Linked DNA regions of Homo sapiens: regions 1, 2 and 4 are each linked to region 3. Evidence: promoter capture Hi-C in 16 types of primary human blood cells and fetal thymus (Javierre and others, 2016). All regions are on one chromosome and are shown on one strand. Each heading gives the region's core, a stretch centred on a gene start or on the middle of the fragment in contact. The rest is flanking DNA. Distances are from core to core; before and after follow the strand shown.

Evidence for each region. The method cuts DNA at HindIII sites, captures the fragments that hold promoters and counts their contacts. A CHiCAGO score of 5 or more calls a contact.
Region 1: a fragment that was not itself captured here is called in contact with the fragment with the promoter of YIF1B in region 3 in 5 of 17 cell types (naive CD4 T cells, total B cells, naive B cells and 2 more); the score reaches 7.4 in naive CD4 T cells.
Region 2: the fragment with the promoter of WDR87 here is called in contact with the fragment with the promoter of YIF1B in region 3 in 10 of 17 cell types (total B cells, naive B cells, naive CD4 T cells and 7 more); the score reaches 12.2 in total B cells.
Region 4: the fragment with the promoter of MAP4K1 here is called in contact with the fragment with the promoter of YIF1B in region 3 in 4 of 17 cell types (fetal thymus, neutrophils, naive CD4 T cells and 1 more); the score reaches 8.5 in fetal thymus.

Annotation. Positions count from the first base shown.
Region 1 is chr19:37,887,313-37,890,750 of GRCh38, reverse strand. WDR87 (WD repeat domain 87) reads left to right here. Exons shown (of 6, transcript NM_001291088.2): 6 at 475-3,438. The region is part of intron 4 of LOC105372395 (a long non-coding RNA gene); the gene reads right to left. Among named protein-coding and RNA genes, the nearest start is that of WDR87, 18 kb to the left of the region's middle. The HindIII fragment of the contact is 9,115 bases long and covers 1-3,438 here.
Region 2 is chr19:37,905,190-37,908,619 of GRCh38, reverse strand. It overlaps WDR87 (WD repeat domain 87), which reads left to right and starts at 2,026. Exons shown (of 6, transcript NM_001291088.2): 1 at 2,026-2,121. It overlaps SIPA1L3 (signal induced proliferation associated 1 like 3), which reads right to left and starts at 1,412. Exons shown (of 22, transcript NM_015073.3): 1 at 1,262-1,412. RefSeq lists an enhancer at 701-760 and a silencer at 1,061-1,300. The HindIII fragment of the contact is 21,411 bases long and covers 1-3,430 here.
Region 3 is chr19:38,313,989-38,317,442 of GRCh38, reverse strand. It overlaps YIF1B (Yip1 interacting factor homolog B, membrane trafficking protein), which reads left to right and starts at 1,496. Exons shown (of 8, transcript NM_001039672.3): 1 at 1,496-1,583. The coding sequence starts at 1,526. RefSeq lists a silencer at 1,172-1,661. The HindIII fragment of the contact is 4,086 bases long and covers 1-2,156 here.
Region 4 is chr19:38,616,131-38,619,618 of GRCh38, reverse strand. It overlaps MAP4K1 (mitogen-activated protein kinase kinase kinase kinase 1), which reads left to right and starts at 1,666. Exons shown (of 31, transcript NM_001042600.3): 1 at 1,666-1,822; 2 at 1,994-2,051; 3 at 2,175-2,265; 4 at 3,360-3,424. The coding sequence starts at 1,724. EIF3K (eukaryotic translation initiation factor 3 subunit K) reads right to left here and starts at 431. Exons shown (of 8, transcript NM_013234.4): 1 at 292-431. The coding sequence starts at 350. RefSeq lists an enhancer at 1,093-1,142. The HindIII fragment of the contact is 13,708 bases long and covers 664-3,488 here.

The sequences.
Region 1 (3,438 bases), core at 473-2,972, 430 kb after region 3:
AGATCAGTGGTTGCCTAGGGCCAGAGGTTAAGGGTAGATAGATGTTGACTGGGACACTATATAGGAGGGAATTTAGGGGGATAATAGAAATGCCTTATATCCTGATTGTGATTGCAGTAATTACAAAAGTGTATACATTTTTCAAACTCATCAAACTGTTTGCTTAAAATGGGTATATCCTGTTTAAATTATACCTCAGTAAAATTGATTTTTATGAAAGCAATGAAAAAAAAAGACTTTCTAAGGAAGGATCCACTCAAACTCAGGAAGACTCTAAGGCCTAGCTCTCTAGGATTTGGCAGGAGTAGGGGGCTAGGAATAAAGCAAAGAGAATGCTTTTTTTTTTTAAGGCCTCAGTTCTCTCTGTTGTTACTTCTTATATGACAGTTCTTCTTAGCTCACACCTAATATTGGGAAGGGTTTCATGTCGCTTCCCATACTTTGCTTACCTCCATCTCTCGATTTTTACTGCAGGCCAAAAATGGTTGCGGGGTCTCAAGAAGACGAAAGAGAGAGACTCTAAACAGATGAGCACAGAGCCAGGCCTCTTAGAGGATGAAAGTGGGACTGAGGCCGCACCAATTGAGATGGAGGAAGCATCCGTCTATTCCCAATGGTCTTCAAGCACCAGTGTAATAAAGCTCTCAAAAGATGTTGATTCTCAAGAGAAAGATATCTCGAAGGATCACATTGCATTGACCCTGAAGAGGCTGCAGAAAATACGTGACAAAAGAGACAAGAAAGCAACAGCTCAGAAACTCAAAAAGAAGCACAAAAAGAAGGGAAAAGAAGCCAAAGTTATAAATGAGGAAACTACACCTCCTGTAATGGAACAGCCAGTTACTAAAAAGGTTAAAATCCAAGGGCGGGGAGCCTCTGGAATATCTGGCCGCAGGTCAACCGCTGGAGATGGCTCATCATGGAGGGACGATCTATGTCGTCTTATGGCCCTGAGGATATCTGGTTCCCAAACAAAAATGTCAGAAAACCTAAACGCTGAGCTAGTGACATTTGCTCAGGAGATGCTGGTAGATAGGCACCCCAGCTGGGAACTCTTTCAGGAGATCTGCCCCCTATTGAAGAAAGAAAGTAAGGTTCTGCTTGAGGACCTTGATTGGGATGTAGTCCCGCCAGAGAAGAAACCAATTTTTATCCAGGAAGGAGCAATTAGAGAGGACATGATACAAGGTGTGACCCAAGAGGTGATCAGACACAAGGAAGTGATGCCAAGGGAAGAAGAACAAGCACAAAAGAAAGCAAGAGACATGCTGGGCTTGGAGGAAACCCAAGTGATTTTGAAAAAGGGCAAGAAAGTTATTTTTTTAGAACCAGGTAATGTAACCATGGGAAAAGAAATATCAAAGAAAGAAGAGAAGAAAACCTTTCAGAAGTCACCTAAGCAAGGGAGGAAAGCTGTCCAGAAGGAAAGAAAAGTAGGAAAAATAAAGAGGGAAATGACCAAAGAAGAGAGGGATATGAGTGAGGAAGTGGAGGAAATGGCCACACTAGAGGAGAAAGTGGTCAAACAAGAAGGAAAACTGGTTATGATTGAGAGGACACCATCTTGGCAGGACTGGAAAAAGGCCTGGGATGAGTGGAAACAGGTCCATGGTGAGACAAGGAAATCCTGGAAGGCATGGAAGGAAGAATGGGAGAAGAGGCTTCTTCAGGAAGAGGAGAAACTACATCAGGCTGGAGAGAAGCTATCCCCGGAGGAGGAAATGCTTCAGGAGGACAAGAAGCTGAAATGGGAGGAGTGGAAACAAGTCTGGGAAAATATGTTATCATCTAAGTCCAAGGAGCAACAGTACAAGGATGAGGAAGAAGTGACTTTGGAGGAAGAAGTGTCTCGGGAGGGGGAAGAAAAAGAACAGCAGGTCACAGAAGAGCAGAGACACATCCAAGAAGAACACAAATGGGCCAGAATACACAGGAAACGAGCCCGAGCTGAAAAAAAACGAGCCCAAGAAGAGAGGAAATTAGCACAAGAAGAAGAGAAACTTGCACAAGAAGAGAGACAGTTGGCCCAGGAAGAGAGAAAACTGGCCCAGGCATACGTGAAAATAACCCAGGATGACAGGGAAATGGCCCAGGCAGAGGGTAAGTTTGCCCAGAAAGAGGAAACACTGGCCCAAAGAGGGGAGAAGCTAAGCCAGGAGGCGGAGAAATTGGCCCAGAAAAGGAAGAAACTGGCCAAGAAATGGGAGAAAGTGGCTAGAGAAGAAGAGAAACTAGCAAAGAAAGGAGGGAAACTGGCTGAGGTGAAAAACATATTGGCCCAGAAAGTGGAAGAACTGCCCCAGAGGGAACAAAATCTGGACTGGCAAGAAAAGGAGCTGGCCCAGGAATTGGAGGAACTGGAATGGGACATGGAAGAACTGTCTTGGAAAGAAGAGGAACTGAATCAGGAAGAGGGGAAACTGGTTGAGGAAAAGAAGAAACTGGCTGAGGAAGAGGAGGCATTGGCCTGGCAAAGGGAGAAACTGTCTGAAGAAGAGACAAAACTGGCCCAGGAAGAAGAGTTGCTGATCCAGGAAAAGGAGAAACTGGCCCAGCACAAGGAAAAAATGCCTGAGGAAGAGGAAAGACTGGGACGGAAAAGGGAGCAATTGATTGAGAAGAAGATGAAACTGGCCCAAAAAAGGGAAAGATGGATCAACAGCATGGAAGAACTCACAAAGAACAAGATGATACTGTACCAGAAGAAGAATCTGGCTCAGGAAAAGAAGAATCTGGCCCAGGAGAAGGAAAAATTGGCTCAGAGGAAAGAGAACCTACTCTATAATAAAGAAAGACTCACCCACAGCAAAAAGCAATTAGTGCAAGTAAAGAACAAATTGGGAATGTTCAACAAGATACTGGCTCAGGTAGAGGAGAAGCTGACACAGGAAAAGGAGACTGTGATCAAGAAGAAGGAGAAACTGGCTGAAACAGAGAAAAAATTGGTCCAAGTAGAGGATAGTTTGGCCAAAAAACAGGAGAAATTGGCCCAGGAAAAAATGAAATTAGCTCTGGAGAAGGCAATGGTCCAAGGAAAGAAACGGCTCAGAGGAGAGTTGGATATTGCTAAGGAAGAAAAGGCATTGAACCTGGAAATGAAAAGACTGGCTGAGGAGAAGATGAGACTGGTTGAGGGAAAAGAAACACTGTCTAAGGGAGAGACTCCAGAAACTTCTAGACAAAGGAAAATGACTCAAGTTGAACAAGAACTATTTGAGAGAAAATTGTCACTAGAGGAGAAGATACTGCTACATGAAGACAGGATATTGGCCATGGAGGAAAGCGAAATTGCCAAAGGAAAACTGGAATTTACTAGAGGACAGAGAATATTTGTCCAGGGGCAAAGAAAGTTAGCCAAGGCTTCAAGGAAGTTGATTAAAAAAAGGGAGAGCCTTTCCAAGGAACCAGCAAAACTGAACAAAATCTTAAAGGCACTTC
Region 2 (3,430 bases), core at 777-3,276, 410 kb after region 3:
AAACAGCAAGATACATTTAATCATTTAATAAGCACTTACTGTGTGCCGGGCCTTGTGCAAAGCACTAAACATGAATTATCTCCTGGAACCATCCAAACAATCCTGGCACAAAAGTCCTATGACTACCATTCCACAGATGGGACACTGAGGATGGGAGCAAATGTGTGGGGGAGCTCAGGGCTGTCATGTCACAGCCCACAGTCAGGCAGTCTCTGGGCCAGATGGAGAATATTGAAGAACAATTATAATACATAAGAGCTGCTACTTAGTGAGAGATGGCGCTGGACTAGAAATACAATCTCAGCAAATCCTTACAACCCTTTGAGAGTGATCTTGTTATTATCCCATTTTGTAAATGAGGAACCTGAGGTAGTAGGAAGGGAAGTCAACTGGACCAGTTCTGAATCTGGCCCTCGGGGGTGACCAATACTACGGCCAGAGCCCCACCCTCAGAGGGTCTCTGGGCCACTAGGAAAACGCTGAATAAATGGTACCATTTACTGAGCGTTATATGCCAGCTGCTGTGCTAAGCACTTTACACATGGTATTCTCACTGCATCCTGAAAACAACTCGACGAAGTGGTTGCTATTTAAATCCCCATTTTATAGATAGGGAAACCAAGGCACAGAGAGGTGAAGCCAGTTGCCCAAAGTCACACAGCTGGTAAATGTTCAAATTTGAACCTGGGGTCTCTCTGCCTTCCAAACCAACGCTCTTAACAAAATAATCTCGGTTAACAGCAGCTAGCCTGCATTGGGTGCTAACTAAGGACTCACCTCTTTACATGCACACGCTCAACTAATCCTCACCCTATGCAATCGATAACATCTTCACCTCATTTTTCGGAGAGCTAACAATAACCCAAATACGTAGTAAGTGCCTCCTATGTGCCAAATGTTTTATTATATTATCTCAACAGAGTCTCCGCCAAGATGCTCTCCTACTCCGTTTTACTGCAGGGGAAATTGAGGTTCGGCGCGGTTTTCCCAGATCGCGGCTCCCGAGTGGCACAGCCGGGACGCGAATCCACCGCTCCCCGCCTCCAAGCTCTTCACCACAGCGCCGGGGTGCACGCCTGGAAAGTTGAGCCATGCGGGCACGAGTCCGGCTGGGTCCGGAGGGCGCGAGTCCCGGCGCCGCCGCCCCCCACGGCCAGTACCCACACCCGGCCGTCCGCCCGCGCTGACCCTCGGGGTCCGGGCAGCCACCGATTCCCCGCCACCCTTGCGCGAGGCCGATCCTGCACCCGGAGCCACGTACCTGGACGCCCCGGCTGCCCGCCTCGCGGGCCCCACGATCGCGGCGTCCAGCTCCGCGCCGCTCGCTGGAGACGCCGCCAGCTCCGGTGGCCCGAGTGACTTCCAGGCTGCCCACTTCCAAGCCGCTTCGCGCGAGTCCTCCTGGGAACTGTAGTTTCGCCCTAGCCGGCCGCGAACTCAAAAAGAGAATGGCGCGCGGGGGCTGCCGGGAGCCGTAGGCGCACCGCCGCGCTGCCTCCTAGGAACGGTAGTCCGCTGGTCGCCTTCGTGCAGCTCCAGTCTGTAGAGCACTTCCGCAGCCCCGAGGGGCGTGAGGGAGGGAGGTGTGTCTCCTGCAGACTACAGCTCGAGAGCCGCGCTCTTCGCCCCGCCGGGGCGGTTTCTCCTTTCTCCTGGCCCCGTCTACCTCCTCCCTTCATTCGGCGGAACCTCTCCCTCACTCTCTGCCAGGCTCGAGTCACTTACCCCTAGGACGCTAGCCCGGGGGAAACGGGGGAAGCGGAGCAGTGCGCTAGACCCCCAGCGGAGGGGGCGGTGGAGGAGGGCGTAGATGCACGCCCGCGCACGCGCGGTCGTCGGCAGACCCCGGCCTAAATTGCCGCGGGACCCCGCGGAGAGGATTTTTTTTTTTTTTCTTTCGAGAGCGCGCGCGCGTTCTCGCGCCGGGCGCGCGCCCATGCGCACGCGCGTTCAGACCCCTGGCCTCGGGAAGTCCGCCGGCTGCGGGGTTGGGGGCCAACCGTTCTGTGGGCGGAGTCCTCTCGCAACATCCGCCAGGTAGCTTCTTAGTTGCTGCCCCTAGCTCTAGGAGCTCCTGAGTGCACACGCCGTACCCGTCCCTTGTCGGGAATCCTGTCGCAGGTAACAGGCGCAGCCAATGCTTTGAGATAGAGACGCCCTGCCTTCCCTGCCACGTGCAGGAGGCCCGAGGGTGAGGGGCCCCAGGTGTAGTCGCCTGTCCCCGGCGTAGGCGGCTCCAGAGCTCTGCCTTCGACGGGAGCCACAAGACCCAGGGGCTGCCTAGGGGCCTTGTTATCTTGCATTCTTTTGTTGATCGCACATTCCTGAGGGTAACTAGTGTTTGTAGAGTACCTACACCTTGGGAAATTTTGTCCAAATTTAATCCACCTGGTGACATAACCAAGCAGCGGAATACCCCGCAACACACACTCCTTTTTTAAGGTATATTGCCACTCCTCCATAAGAGTTACCGAGGGAATTGACTGGAATTGCAAGGTCCTCTGGTGGAGAAGCCGGAGTCAATACCCTTTCCGCCTCAGCCTGCCTTCTAGGAAGATGTTCACTAACACTTGAAGCTGGGAAGCATATGTTTCTTCCTGGGAGAGCACATTTTTCCACTCATTCAACAAAAATGGATTAACCACCTATTCCATGTCAGGTTGGGTGATTATGGAGACACAAGAGAAATCCAGACAGACTGGACTCCTACCTTCAGGGAGTTTTCAGTCCAGTAGGGATATCAGGCCACCACCAGACTACAACAATGTAGAGCAATACTAGCTAAGAGAAATATACCCTGCACTTTGAGCCACCGAGGCAGGAGGATCACTTAAGGCCAGGAGTTGGAGACTGGCCGGGTAACATAGCAAGACCCTATCTCTACTAAAACTAAAAAACTAGCTAGGCGTGGTGGCATGTGGCCATAGTCCCAGCTATTTAAGAGGCTGAGTATCGCTTAAGCCCAGGAGTTTGAGACTGCAGTGAACCATGATTGCACCACTGCCCTCCAGCTTGGGCGACAAAGCAGAACCCTGTCTCTTTAAAAAAAAAAAAAATTATATATGTGTGTGTTTTTATGTGTAATGCAAGCCACATATGCAATTTTAATTTTGACATAAACAGGTAAAATTCATTTTATTTATCATTATTATTTACTTTTTTTTTTCTTGCTATGTTGCCCAGGCTGGTATTGAACTCCTGGCCTCAAGACATGTTCCTACCTCAGCCTCGCAAAGTGCTGGGATTATAGGCGTGAGCCATCTCACCCAGCTATGAAATTAATTTTAATATTTTATTTAACCCAAATATATCCAAAATATTATTCCAAGTTAGGTTAATGGAAAAATGTTTTCATTGCTTCAGTTCTACTTTTTTTTTTTTTTTTTTTGGAGACGGAGTCCCACTCTGTCGCCAGGCTGGAGTGCAGTGG
Region 3 (3,454 bases), core at 247-2,746:
TTTCGCTCACAAAAAGGAACCACAGTGGAGCCAGCACTCATCACTGAGAAACCAGGAGCAGCCCTTAAGGTCTCCAAAAAGACAACGTCTCAGAGGAGGAAGAGGAAGCCACAGCGATAGGGTCACTTGCTGACATCCTTCCGGATGCGCTATCGCTGCGCAGAAGTAACTTCCACCACTATGTTTTCCTGAGATAAGTCGGGGAGTCTGAGAGGGAGAGAAGGGGGGAGACTGAGAGTCAGAGAGAGGAGAGACTAAGGACGCTAGGTGGGCAGGGCTCTTCACTTGCAGGTGCGCCTGTGTGCTGTGAGTTGCTGGGGGTTGTAGAATGCTTTTGGTGGACAGAGGGAACCAGGTTGCAATGTGAGAACATTTTTATGAATTTCTGGGAAACTGCCTTAAGATCTATTCCAAGAGAGACACCTGGTTCTTCTCACCTAACTTGTTGGGTTTCCTTTTCTCACTCTAAATATTCACTTTAAGGCCGGGCACTGTGGCTCATGTCTGTAATCCTAATGCTTTAGGAGGCTGAAGCAGGAGGATGGCTTGAGCCCAGGAATTCGAGACCAGCCTGGGCAACATAGCAAGATCCTGTTTTGACAAAAAATTTAAAAATTAGCTGGGCATGGTGGTGCATGCCTGTGGTGCCAGTTACTGGGGAGGCTGAGGCAGGAGGATCACTTGAGCTCAGGGGGTCCGAGGCAGCCTGGAAAACAGAGGAAGACCCTGTCTCAAAATAAATAAATATTTACTTTAATACCTAAGGGATGTCAAAAATTGTATAAGCCCCTACAACTCCAATTAGCCCCTCAGGAACACAAATGTTTCTCTTTTCCTTGCTCCACAGCCTTTTCTGGCTCTCCAGTGCTCTCAATGACCCAAACTGAACGGCTGTCTGCAGAGAACTGCATTTCCCATCGACCTTTTCGCTCGATATTTACATTTTAAAAAATGTTTTGTAGCGATGGAGATCTCGCTGTTGCCCAGGCTGGTCTCGAACTCCTGGGCTCAAGCGATCCTCAGCCTTCCAAAGTGCTGAGATTACAGGCGTTAAGCCACTGAGCCTGGCTAAATTAAAAAAAAAAAAAATTGTAGGGATGGGGCGGGGCGAGGGTCACTATGTTGCTCAGGCTAGTCTCGAATCCCTGGGCTGAAGCAATCCTCCCGCCTCGGCCTCCCAAAGTGCTGGAGTTAGGGGCGTGAGCCCCGGCAAGGGGCAGACACTCATTTTCTGTCGTGGCAGACACCGCCTCCTCCTGGGATTGGTCCCGGCCTCGCCCTCCTGCCACTCAGGCCTTGACTCGCTTTACTGCATGAGCCCAGTAGCCCAGTCTCCGCCTCTTACGTAAGGCACCGCCCAGTCGTCCAGGCCTCCGTGAAGGGGGGGGCTGGAGGGGTCGGGGGGGTGGGGGCGAGGCCTTCCCTCAATCCTGACGTCCATTGGCTGTCTCTTCGCCGGCGGGGCGTGGGTACGGGAGCCGGGCGGGCACGCTCCGAACCGCGGCTTAGGTGGCGGCGGCGAAGGATGCACCCGGCAGGCTTGGCGGCGGCGGCTGCGGGGACGCCCCGGCTGCGTAAGTGGCGTACGTGGCCGGCGGAGGAGATCGGGCGGGCGGGGGCGTGGCGGGGCGGCCGCGTCGGTTGGCGAGGTCACTGCAGGTCAGAGGTCACGAGATCAAGGATCTGGAACCCTGAGGTGTGCACAGCGCTGGGATGCCAGGTTCGGGTAGGAGGCCCCTTGGGGGGCGATTCTTTAGGAAATTCCTTTAGAAGAAAACAACTTGGGACTGGATAGCGTGCGATATGCAGAGAAATGCAACTTTCATTCATTTGCAGTTAGCGATCCGCCCTTCCCTGCTCCCCACCCTTCCGTGGCTCCCCAGTACCCGCCTGCTGTCGCCCACACCCTTAGGACAGCTTCGTGGCCCCCCGGGAGCGCAGAGGGCCATGCCTACCGCTCATTTAAGAAGCGAACCTGTATTGTGCTGTTGGCCCCCTTTTCCTGTCTCTTCATCTCCGTGAGTGTGCTGTGTGTTTCATTTATTCATTCAACCTAACTTGTCTCAACTCCCATGTGTCAGGCCCTGTGTTGGGATGGAGATGTTGTGGGAGCCCTGAGGAGGCACATGACCCAGCCTAGGGGTGTCAGTGAAGCTTCCTGGAAGAGGATACTTCTTTTTCTTTTTTTTTTTTTTTTGAGACCTAGTTTTGTTCTTGTTGCCAAGGCTGGAGTGCAATGGCGCGATCTCAGGTCACCGCAACCTCCGCCTCCCGGGTTCAAGCGATTCTCCTGCCTCAGCCTCCCAAGTAGCTGGGATTACAGGCGCAGGCCACCACGCCCGGGGTGGTATAGACGGGGTTTCTCCATGTTGGTCAAGCTGGTCTCAAACTCCCGACCTCAGGTGATCCGCCCGCCTAGGCCTCCCAAAGTGCTGGGATTACAGGCGTGAGCCACCGCACCCGGCATGGAAGAGGATAATTCTGATCATGAAAAGTTACCCAGGAGAAGGAGATTTGTAGTGAGAGGGCAGGCTGGGCGTGCTGGCCTACACCTATAATCTCAGCACTTTGGGAGGTCGAGGTGGGCGAATCACTTGGGGCCAGGAGTTGGAGACCAGCTTGGGTAACAGCAAAATCCTATCTCTAATAAAAGTACACAAAATTAGCCGGGTGTGGTGGCGAGCACCTGTAATCCCGGCTACTTGGGAGTCTGAGGCTTGAGAATCACTTGAACCCAGGAGGCAGAGGTTGCACTGAGGCGAGATTGCACCAGCCTGGGCGACAGAGCAAGACTTCGCCTCAAAAAAAAAAAAAAAAAAAAAAAAAGAGGGTGATCCACCTGCCTTGGCCTCCCAAAGTGCTGGGATCACAGGCATGAGTCACGGTGCCCAGCCAACCAGCCTGGCCAACATGATGAAACCCCATCTCTACTAAAAATGCAAAAAAATTAGGTTGGGCGCAGTGGTTCACACCTATAATCCCAGGATTTTGGGAGGCCGAGGTGGGAGGATCACGAGGTCAGGAGTTCGAGACCAGCCTGGCCAACATGGTGAGACCCCATCTCTACTAAAAATAGAAAATTTAGCTGGGCGTGGTGGTGTGCGCCTGTAGTCCCAGCTACTCAGGAGGCTGAAGCAGAAGAATTGCTTGAACCTGGGAGGTGGAGGGTGCAGTGGGCCGAGATTTCACCACTGCACTCCAGCCTGGGTGACAGAGTGAGACTCCATCTCAAAAAAAAAAAAAAAAAAAATTAGCCGGGCGTGGTGGCGCGCACCTGTAATTCCAGCTACTCGGGCGGCTGAGGCAGGAGAATCGCTTGAACCCAGGATGCGGAGGTTGCAGTGAGCCAAGATTGCGCCATTGCACTCCAGCCTAGGCAACGAGCGAAACAACGCCTCAAGAAAAGAAAAAAAAGAGAGAGAGAAGGAAAGGCATTGGAGGCCTGTGCCAAGTA
Region 4 (3,488 bases), core at 417-2,916, 300 kb before region 3:
GCAGTGCTTTTGTTTCTTTCTTTTAGAGACGGGGTTTGGCTGTTGCCCAGGCTGGTCTCTAACTCCTGGGCTCAGGCGACCCACCTACCTCGGCCTCCCAAAGTGCTAGGATCACAGGCGTGAGCCACTACCCCCAGCTCAGTGCCGTTTCTTTAAGCATCTCCTCCTCCAGGAGGATAGAGAAACCCCACCCCGCGGCAAGCCCAGGACCCTGAACACCCCTTGCTGTCTCCGGAAAACCCTCTCCTCCGCCCCGCTTGGCCAGAGCGCTTCCTCCAACCGGGCTCAGACCTGTCGATACCCTTGAGCAACTTGCCCACGTTGGCTCTCATCTGCTCAAACATCGCCATGACTTCTGTCGCCTTCCACAACCAGGGCTGGAGGCTAACACTGACCCGGCACGGCGTCCTCAAGGACGGGAACAGGAAGAGGTGGTGGAAACGGAAACGACGTCGTTGTTGTCGCTCCAGCTCCTTGGGTGCGGTAAAGGGAAAGGCTCTAGCAGCAGCCGCCACGCTTTCCGGCTGCCACGTGACTTCTTCCTCGCAGGCGCAATTGGCGCGTGCGCATTCGCGCCACTCAAGCTGGACAGACAGCGTGAGAAAAATCTTACTGGATCCCAGTGCGCAGGCGCCTCTCGTGGCGAGGGGGCGGGGCTAAGCTTTTCCCGGGCCTCACAGACCCAGTTCCAGTGCCGGTAGCGCGGGAGCGTGCGCGCGCGAACTCACCGGGAAGCACCCGGAGCTCTGGCGGCGTGCGCGCGCGTTGTATTGCGCGCGGCCATGAGGCCACGGAGCTCTGCGGGAATGCACGCAGCAGCCTTACGTTTAGGCCATGGCCAAGTTCCGAGGGAGGTGTTCTGAGGTCCCTCTTGCCACAGGCCTGGGCGCCTGGTGCAGGATCCTGAGCTCTCCAGTTTCAAGTCTCAGCCCTTGGTCCCCAGCTCCAGGAGGAGGGTCCCACAAAGCTACTGTGCTCTGCCGGGCAGGGGCTGGGGTGAGGGCTCCTGGACTTCGCCGGATCGCGCCCCGTCTCCATTAGGTTCCGGTCTTGGAGCTGAGGGCGAGCGTCCCATTTGTACTGCCATGAATTATATATTATGTATAGGTTTTGTACACTGCAGGCCTACAAAATGCAGTTATGTGCCATGCATGTGGAGGTATATGTCCTGGGTACATCCACGTGTGTACTGTGCACACAGGTATCCAGGCAGATGCACGTCTACACGCCTGCGCAGTGCAGAGGAGGTAACCCAAGTGCATGTATGTGACAGGTGAACAGGCATGTACACTGCATAGCCATCCCTTTGCAGACCTGCCGCCTTCGGGTTGTGGCCAAACCTTCAAGCACCCAGCAGAGGTTTAGACACTACCTAGGAGACGGGGGCGGGGGTTCTAAGGCACCCCCCTCCAACCCAGTTACGATTAAGATCATTTGCATCACATTTACATCCAGCCCTGGGCCTTGGAGGTTGAGGGTGGTCCCTTGGGTCCCAAGACAAGCTGCCCCTCAGAGGCTCTCAGAGCCCAGGGGACGGGGGGGTGGAGCCCGTTGCACAGTCGTGCAGTGCAGCTGGGGCAGGAAGCGAGAGTGAGGAGGGGGGAGGCCACAGCCCGCGGAGGCAAGGCGGGTGCAGGGCTTCTGGGGACGGAGGGAGGTGCCAGAAGTTGAGCCCTGAGGCCCTGCTGGCCCCTGGGCGCAGGCCCAGCTCAGGCCCCCAGGGATGGACGTCGTGGACCCTGACATTTTCAATAGAGACCCCCGGGACCACTATGACCTGCTACAGCGGCTGGGTGGCGGCACGTATGGGGAAGTCTTTAAGGTGAGGAAGCCCCTCTGTCCCCAACACCCTACAACCAGTGACCTTTAAGGCAAGCCCTCGGCAGGGAGGAGGCTGCAAGAGGGGGTCCCAGTTCTTGACCTTGACTCAGGGATGCTGTGGAGGGACTCTGGCAAATGGAGCCTGCCTGACTGCCAACTTCCCCTTTGCAAGGCTCGAGACAAGGTGTCAGGGGACCTGGTGGCACTGAAGATGGTGAAGATGGAGCCTGGTGAGGAGGGAACATGGAGCTCCTTCCCCACATCCCCACCTTCGCCTCCTGGGACACTGGGATCACCTCCCCTGTAGCTCTCTCCCCATGCGAGCTGCCTTTTCTCTCCCGCCCTCCTCACAGATGATGATGTCTCCACCCTTCAGAAGGAAATCCTCATATTGAAAACTTGCCGGCACGCCAACATCGTGGCCTACCATGGGAGTTATCTCTGGTGATGAACCTCAGACCCACCCTGGCACCCAGCCCAGCCCCTAACCCGGAGTCCCCATTTCTTGATGGGGGTACCCTCAGTTCTTTTTTTTTCTTTTCTTTTTCTTTTTTGAGATGGAGTCTTGTTCTGTTGCCAGGCTGGAGTGCAGTGGCATGATCTCAGCTCACTGCAACCTCTGCCTCCTGGGTTCAAGCAATTCTCTGCCTCAGACTCCCGAGTAGCTGGGATTACAGGCGCTCACCACCCTGCCCGGCAAATTTTTGTATTTTTAGTAGAGATGGGGTTTCACCATCTTGGCCAGGCTGGTCTTGAACTCCTGACCTTGTGATCCACTCGCCTCGGCCTCCGAAAGTGCTGGGATTACAGGTGTGATCCACCGCGCCTGGTCTTGGCACCCTCAGTTCTAACCTTGAACTTCCATTTCTCACCATAACCCGACCTCCCATCCTGGACCCCCATTTTTGACTGGGCTAACCCTACCATGATCCTCACTCCTAAGTCCCACTTTTCTGACCAGAGCAGCCTCTAATCTAATCTCCAATCTAAAATTCCCATTTCTGACCAAGAGTACCCCAAATTGATCTCTTCATAGTAACTGAATTTGAAATCAACTCCCTTGAAACGAAGCTCTCACCATTCTGCTCTTTGGCTCACCCAGTTTCACTCTCTGCTCCTTTAATATAAACTCCTAAATTCCCTGATCCCCAAATTAATATTCCAGATGCCCCAATAATGACCTCTGCTCCCCAGAACAGGTGCCCTGGGCCCCTCTGTCCCCTCCAAATCTCCACAACCCGTGAGATCTCTGCCCTGCCTCCTAGGTTGGCGTGGGACGGCAGTGGGGTCCCGCCCAAAGGCCTAGGTTTGAGTTGACTTGCCCCGGAACTCACATTTCCTCTCTGAGCCTTAACTTCCTTGTCTGTAAAATGGGAATGAAACAACCTCACTCTGGTAGACAAGGAGAGGTGGAGTGATGAGAGCTGTTACGTTAAAGTTCTTATTGAACTAGAACAAGACAGAAGCAAACCAGGGGCTTTCCTGCAAATAATAATGTATTTACTGCTATTATTATTCTTACTCTTGAACCACTGCAGGTTGCAGAAACTCTGGATCTGCATGGAATTCTGTGGGGCTGGTTCTCTCCAGGACATCTACCAAGGTTAGAGAAAGGACAACGGGACCCAAGCACCCCTCCCTATCCCCACCCCCCAACCCCGACCCAA